Linked DNA regions of Homo sapiens: region 2 is linked to region 1. The links are contacts of gene promoters, found by promoter capture Hi-C in human tissues and cell types (Jung and others, 2019). All regions are on one chromosome and are shown on one strand. Each heading gives the region's core, a stretch centred on a gene start or on the middle of the fragment in contact. The rest is flanking DNA. Distances are from core to core; before and after follow the strand shown.

Evidence for each region. Contacts are between HindIII fragments. The study calls those that stand out against the background at their distance.
Region 2: a fragment that was not itself captured here is called in contact with the fragment with the promoter of C14orf180 in region 1 in 1 of the 25 tissues and cell types used here (lymphoblastoid cells).

What each region holds. Positions count from the first base shown.
Region 1 is chr14:104,578,268-104,581,649 of GRCh38, forward strand. C14orf180 (chromosome 14 open reading frame 180) reads left to right here and starts at 1,497. Exons shown (of 5, transcript NM_001008404.3): 1 at 1,497-1,736. The HindIII fragment of the contact is 18,385 bases long and covers 1-3,382 here.
Region 2 is chr14:104,356,886-104,360,267 of GRCh38, forward strand. No RefSeq gene overlaps it. Among named protein-coding and RNA genes, the nearest start is that of LINC02691, 130 kb to the left of the region's middle. The HindIII fragment of the contact is 6,801 bases long and covers 1-3,382 here.

The DNA of each region.
Region 1 (3,382 bases), core at 247-2,746:
CCCTCTGTCAATGAGAAGGGTCAGGAAGGAGTTGTCCCGGAGCCCCCCGACCTCGGGCAGTGCAGCCTGACCTCTGAAATCTGGGAGGAGCAGCTCCAGCCCTGGGAAGCCAAGGATAAGCGCCCAGATTGGGCACAGGCGGGAGAGGGTCTTGTCTGGCTACAGGACCTCACTCTTCCCAGGAAGCCAGACTGCCAGCAGGACCACCCAGCCTTCCTCAGTGCTCTCCCTGGAACAAGCGTCAGCGAGCCAAGGCCCTCCTGCCAATCTGGCCCACCCCGTTTGTGTAGACACAGAGCGCACTGTGTGCCATATGGCCCTGTAAGAGAAAAGTTTGCTCCCCCATGCCCTGTACTGAAGACGGCAGTGAGGGGAGGGCCGGTCTGCTGAACCCCATCCCAGTGGCTGCGTTGCTCATGCTCTGACGGTGGGTTCCAGGACTCTGTGTCCATGCAGCCCCACGGCTGGCCCTGAGCAGTCACCCTCTGTGCACACTGTCCCCCAGCCTGGCACACCCTGGGCTCCCAGGGGTCCTGTAGCTTTACCCAAGGGAGATGCACCCCCATTCCTAATGGAGAAACACGGGTCTCTCCACACCTCCTCCAGCAGTCCCCTGAAACAGGTCAAAGCCCCACAAACCAGGCAGGGGTCTGCCCACATGTGGTGGTGCCCTGCGCCAGTGATGCCCTCACCAGCCTCTTTCAGACCTGCCTTTACATGCACCAGCAGACGGGGGGGCTGGCGAGGACGGGCCACCAAGCCTGAGCCAGGCTACCACCTCCGGGCTGTGTGACTCTGGACAGGGTGCCTCAACTCTCTGAGCTGCACTTTCACCTACAAATGAGGGGCAGACTCAGCAGCGCCAGGCAGGGCAGTTGGACGCCCACCCAGGACAGACCCTGAGAAAGGCTGATCCCTCACCCCTGCCATCGCTCACTGACCCATACATTGCCCCTTCCTGCCAGGGCAATATCGAGGGTCGGCCAGTGTGCCCCAAAACGGCAGCTTGGGACCCATTCTTTGCCTCTCCCTCTGGCAACCCCAGGTCAGGACTCACAGGGGCACAGGGGCCTGGGGCAGGGCGGGCACTCTCGCCACCACGGAGGCCCCATGCTGGGTCAGGGTCTTATTGGAGGCTGGACTCTGTGATCACCTCACCTCCCGCAGCCCCACAGTGCCCTCCCTCTCCCACTCTGCCCCGAATTCCAATCCATAGGTTTTTCCAAGAGCTGCACAGCTCTGGAATTGACCTGGGAGGGGGCACATTTGGGCCGGGAGGGGTAGGAACAGCAGCAAACTCTGGTCTTATCTGAAATCATGGTCTGTTGTCCACCGGGGGCCTGGGAAACAGCCACCCCCTTCTGCTCCGGGGCCAGCGGCCTGTCCTCGGGTTCACTGCTATTTCTGCCAAAGGGGAGAGGTAATTATAGCCTGGCCGCTGCCAGCTGGCCCAGCTTTGCGATCCAGCAGAGAGGGCTGGAGACGGGACGAAGGCCACAACAGACCCGGCCCTGCCAGCGGGCGGTGGCGCCTCCAGATCAGAGCCCTCGGGAAGGAGGCCTGGGCGGGCCTGGCCCGTTCACCTGTGTGCCCTGCAGTTCTGCCCGAGGCTCAACTCTCAAGGGCCTGGGAGGGGTGCTGCCGGCCAAGAGGGTCCAGGACCTCACTGGACTGTGCCCCACAGGGAGATCCCGAAGAGCCTGTTTCTGTCCCTCGGGGAGCCAGGAGGGAACCAGGTGAGTTCCAGCCCCAGGGAGAGGGGGCTCACTTCCTGCTTGGGTATGAAGATGCCAGAGCGGAGAGATTGCCAAAGGCAGGTGCAGGTGGGGAACCTGCCCCAGCTGGGCAGCAGGTGTGGGCAGAGACTGGGCAGAGCGGAGAGATTGCCAAAGGCAGGTGCAGGTGGGGAACCTGCCCCAGCTGGGCAGCAGGTGTGGGCAGAGACTGGGCAGAGCACACACTGATGATCCTGAGTGACCTGAACAAGCTCCAGAGTGGCCACCCTTCCCCCTTCTCCTGGGACTGATGGTTTCCCTAAAACGGAGACAGTCCCAGGCCGGCCCTGTGTCCACACTGAGGCCAGGCCGCCTCTGGGGGAAGCAGGGAACACGGCCACTTCAAACTTAGCAGCGGGGGTGCTCCTGGCCACACAGGAGCTTCCAAAGGGCACCTGATGTTGCGCGAAACAGCCTGGGCAGTGGGAGAAGGGGCTGCACTCTCAGGGGAATGCAGGCAGCCGTGCCAGGCATGAACCCAGCCAGCCTTCCCTGAAGGGCCTTGGTGGGGGGCATCCTCCGAGGGCAAGTCTACGCAGGCCCAGCCTAGCAGGAATGGATTCGTTACTCCAGTAACTGAAGCCTAGTTCTCAGTGTTTGGGAATCCCTGAGAACTGGCTCTTTTCTGAGCCGTCAGTCAGAAGGAATCCCTGTCCTGCCCTGTGTGGCCATGGGACCCCCACCCAGCACTGGACGCCACGCCATTTCTTGGGCACTACTGAGCTTTGCAGTGCCCTGGACAGTTGGCAAACAGCCCCCATTCCACATATGGGAGGAAGGGCCTGGGGGGGTCCCCCGCCCTGTCTGTCTGGAGCTCTCGAGGCCTAGGGTGGCCCCTGCACCCAGCAGATGAGCAGCCATCACCCGGTACTGCTGCTACCTCGAGCCCTAACTGCACCTCGGGATGTGAGGGCCCATCTAGGCATGGAGAGGGGCCTCAGGGGGCCACCAGGCAGCTCCTGCTCCTGTTCCTACCTGGTAGGGCCTGCAGGCACCTGAGCAAGCCCAGTGGGCGGTCAGCCCAGCCAGGGGCCTCCCCACAAGTTCTCCCTCTTACTTAAGTCGAGAACGCATGTTGTCTGGGGAGCTGCCAGCGTGGTTCCAGTGGTGAGCGTTGGGCTGGGAGCCAAGGCTTTTCCCAGGAGCCCAGCCACCCCGCCTGGCTGTGTTCTGCCTCCGCCCTGCAGAGGAAAGGCCAGCGAGGCAGTGTCCATGGTCCCAGTCTTCTTCCACCGGAAGAAGGCACAACCTGCATCTGCAGCCCCAGGGCCATTGGGTTAGGCCTGTGGCCAAACTACTAAGGTGCTGGGAGACTGAGGAGGCCCAGCTCCTCCTGGGGCCACCAAGCCCGTGGTTGACGGCCTCCCCATGGACCGGGCTGTCCCGAGAGCAGCAAGTCAGCCGGGGCCCTCAGGGCCGCTGAGGCCACTGCTCAGTGTCGCCGTAATGGAAACTTCTCAGCTGGTTGTGAGCCGCAACAGCTCTGGTTCACACCCTGCGACAGCGAGGCTGTGACCGCCAGTGGATCTCGGGGCTGATCAGGCCTGAGCCACCCCGGAGGTACAGCACCAGCAGGAGCCCAGGTGGGCAGGGGCAGAGAGAGAGAG
Region 2 (3,382 bases), core at 271-2,770, 220 kb before region 1:
TGCCCCTCAAGGATATGGCCATAGCGTAATGCCTGGAGCCAGTGGTGTGGTCTCACCTGGAACTAGGGTCTTTGAGTGAAGGATCTCGAGGTGAGGTCGTCCTGGATCGTCTGGGTGGGCCTTAAATCCCACGGCTGGCGTGTGTCCTTACACAAGGAAAGCCGAGGGAGATTGGACACAGAGAAGGAGGCCCTGTGAAGATGGAAGCAGAGACTGGAAGGATGTGGCCACAAGCCAAGGGTGCCCAGGGCCACTGGAAGCTGGGAGAGGCAGGAAGCAGCCTCTCCTGGAGCCTCCAGAGGGAGCAGAGGGTGAGTCTCCTCCAGGGCGGCTGGAGGCTCTGTGGGGTTTGCACTCGTGGTGGACGGCCACCCCTGCTGGCAGCCTGATTTCAGACCTCTGACCTCCAGGCCCTGAAAAAATGCACTTCTAGTGTAAGCTCCCGGCCTGCAGACGTTTGATGCAGCGGTCACAGGGGAGCAAGGCAGATGCTGGTCTGGGCGCCTCAATCACCATCTCTGGTCCCGTCTGTCTTGCTCCCGAGACCCCAGGGCCTGGTCCTTGGTAGCACAGGGAAAACACCAGAGAAGGGAATGCAGGAATGAACGACACGGCAGACCCAAGCACTGGCTGGAGGGCGGTCACCGTCAAAGACAGGGCCCAAGAGTGAGAGTGTGGCCACAGGAGCCGAGAGCTAGGAGGGCCAAGTGTGAATTGCAAGGGCCGGGGCTGTCCTATAGCAGGGCTCAGGGCCCCAGCGGATGCAGCCTGACACTCGTGGTCCAGCTTCCTGAGCACGTTCTTCGAGCCACATATTTTGAGGACCTACTGCGTGCTGGCCAGTGCTCGGAGGCTTACGTGGATCATGTCTACCTCGGTAGCCCTGTGGGCAGCATCAGAACCCTGGCTTTGTGGGCGAGTGAAAGTCCAGGCCCACGTGTGGCCGGGAAGTGGCAGGCTTGGGCTTGGACCCCGGACCCCAGACCCACGTCTCTGCCCCTGGAGAGGCCTCCTGCAGTGCCGCAGCTCTGGAGTTGGATGGAAACTAGAGCAGGGACAGTGTTGCCGCAGCAGAGCGCTGCAGTCCCAGGAGGTGAGAGCCCTGGTAAGCGTGGGCGGTGCAGGAACCCGTCCTGGAAGTGTCCCTACATACCCGTGTGCCAGTCACTAAACGCCACACAGGCCGCAGGACTCCTTCGGCCCAGGGCCACTGTCCTGCAGTGGTGAGAAGCCTGTCTCCACTTGGTAGGACCGTAATTAACCAGTCTGGAAGCTTCCGTCAAGCTCTGTATAGAATCAGCCCCAGGCAAGGCACCGCACAGTGGCCATGGGCCTAGCGCACTCCATGGGCGGAGAATACACTGACGATGGCTGAGCCGACAATGGACTGGGCACAGACTCAGCGTGCCAGGGCCTCCCTGAAGTCCAGACAGAACAACTGGGACGCTGGCTTTGGGGATCTGATGATCATAGATCTTTAGCCGCAAATGTGGGAGGATACTGGAGTAACTCACAGCTGTCAGTGTGGAAGGAGACAACCCAGAGTGCAGAGGAAATCAGCATCTGTACAGAGAGTGGCGGGCACACGGGGCTTCGTGCTCCCCACCTGCTTACCAGGCACTGGGAGCCATGGGTGGCTCTTGAGCACGAGAGTGGCAGGACAAGCCTCTCGTCTGGGAGCCGAGGCAGGCGCTTGCAGGCACGGGCCAGGTCTTTCAGGAGCATGAGGAGGTGGGGGCACAGGGCAGTGGGGGGCCAGGGCCTCTCTGTGGGCTTTGGCATTCCCATCTGTGCCATGGGATGAGCACCCTGCTCTGGGATGCCAGGCCGGGCAGGGGCTCACTTGGCACTGGGTGGACTCTTGAGAGGAATGAGCCTGGTGTTGGGCTCTGGCCCTGGCCCCTGACATTTGCTTCTTGCCTTGGAATTGGGGGCAGTGGCCTGGCCCACTGGAATCGTGGTGACAGGGTGGTGGCTCTCCCTTCACCAGAAGTGTGACCTCCATGGAAAGTCCAGGAAGCAGGGATGAAGGAGTGCCTCATTCTCCATGCTGGACTCAGGCGGACCTGCGGCTCCAAGGGCTCCATGCTGGACTCAGGATGACCTGCTGTTCTGAGGGCTCAGCGGCTTCCTCCAGGGCCATCACTGGGATGAGAGGACCTGGTGTCAGGTGGGGATGTGCCAGCTCCTGTGCCCCCAGCTCCCCTCCTCCTGGGGCCGAGGTAGCTGAGTGGATGGGGAACATGCCCTCCCTTGCCGGGCCAGCCAGCTCCCTGCCCTCGTCTAAGCAGCCTCTCAGTGGGCAGTGGCCTTGGGCCATCCCTGCTTCCAGAGGGTCCCCCATGGGGCCCTCGGCCCCTGGCAGAGCTGGGGAGGGCAGCTGCAGTGGGGTCGCGTGCCTGGGGGGCCGCGGGAGGTATCTTGTCCGGGGCTGTGTTTTGGATTCATTTATTTCCGCTCTGCCTGGAAACCCACTCTGTCCCCTGTCCTCCGGGTGTACAGTGCCTCCTCAGAGATTTTGGGGGCTCTGCAGGGGCGAGGACAGCTGTGTGTTTGCCGGCCACATGGGGCAGCCTGTGGGATGAACGGCCAATGAGTGAGGTCCGGCAAGCAGGTCTGGGCCCCAGCTCAGCTGGTGGCCATGACACAGGCTCCTAGAAGGCAGAACCATGTGTGTCCATCTGGGCCAGAGGTTGGGAGTCTGCAGCATCAGGTTGGGTTCAAGGCCTGGGAAGCCTGTCCTGACAGCTCCCCCTGCCTCCGGCCCCCAGCCCTGACCTTAAGCCCTCACACCACCATGCAGAGGCCCAGATGGTGCAAGCCACTCTCCTGGCTCCCCGGCTCCAGCACCTGCTGTGGCTCCCAGATAGACAGCAGCTACCATCCCTGCAGCCCTCCTGCAAAACACGGCCATTCACACTGCAGGGACCCGGAGGGGACAGTGGACCCACAACCTGGCCTGGAGCTCCCGAGGTCTTTCATCATCTGGCCCATCAGCCCCTCCAGCTCGTGCCCATGGTTCCCTTGCACACCCTACAAAGTTCAGCCAAACTGCCACTCTGGGCTGACCCGAGCACCTGCTGCTACCTGGGCTTCCCTGGGCTATCCCAGGGGTGCTCCCAATCTCCAGCTCCAAGCCAAGGCCTCTCTGGGACTGAGCATTTGGTCCTGTGTCCAAATTCCTGTTGTCCATGTTGGATCCAGCTCCTGTCCCTACTCCTGCAGAGGGGCCCAGCCCTGCAGTCCAGCAAGATGTTGGCGAGTGGGGATGGGGGCAGCAGCCCTGGCTTTTGCTGGAATAGGAGGATCTCCCCGGCCGTTCCCACACACCCTGGGCTCCACAGAGCTGGGAGGACGGAGCCTGGGTTGGGGAAACTGCCTG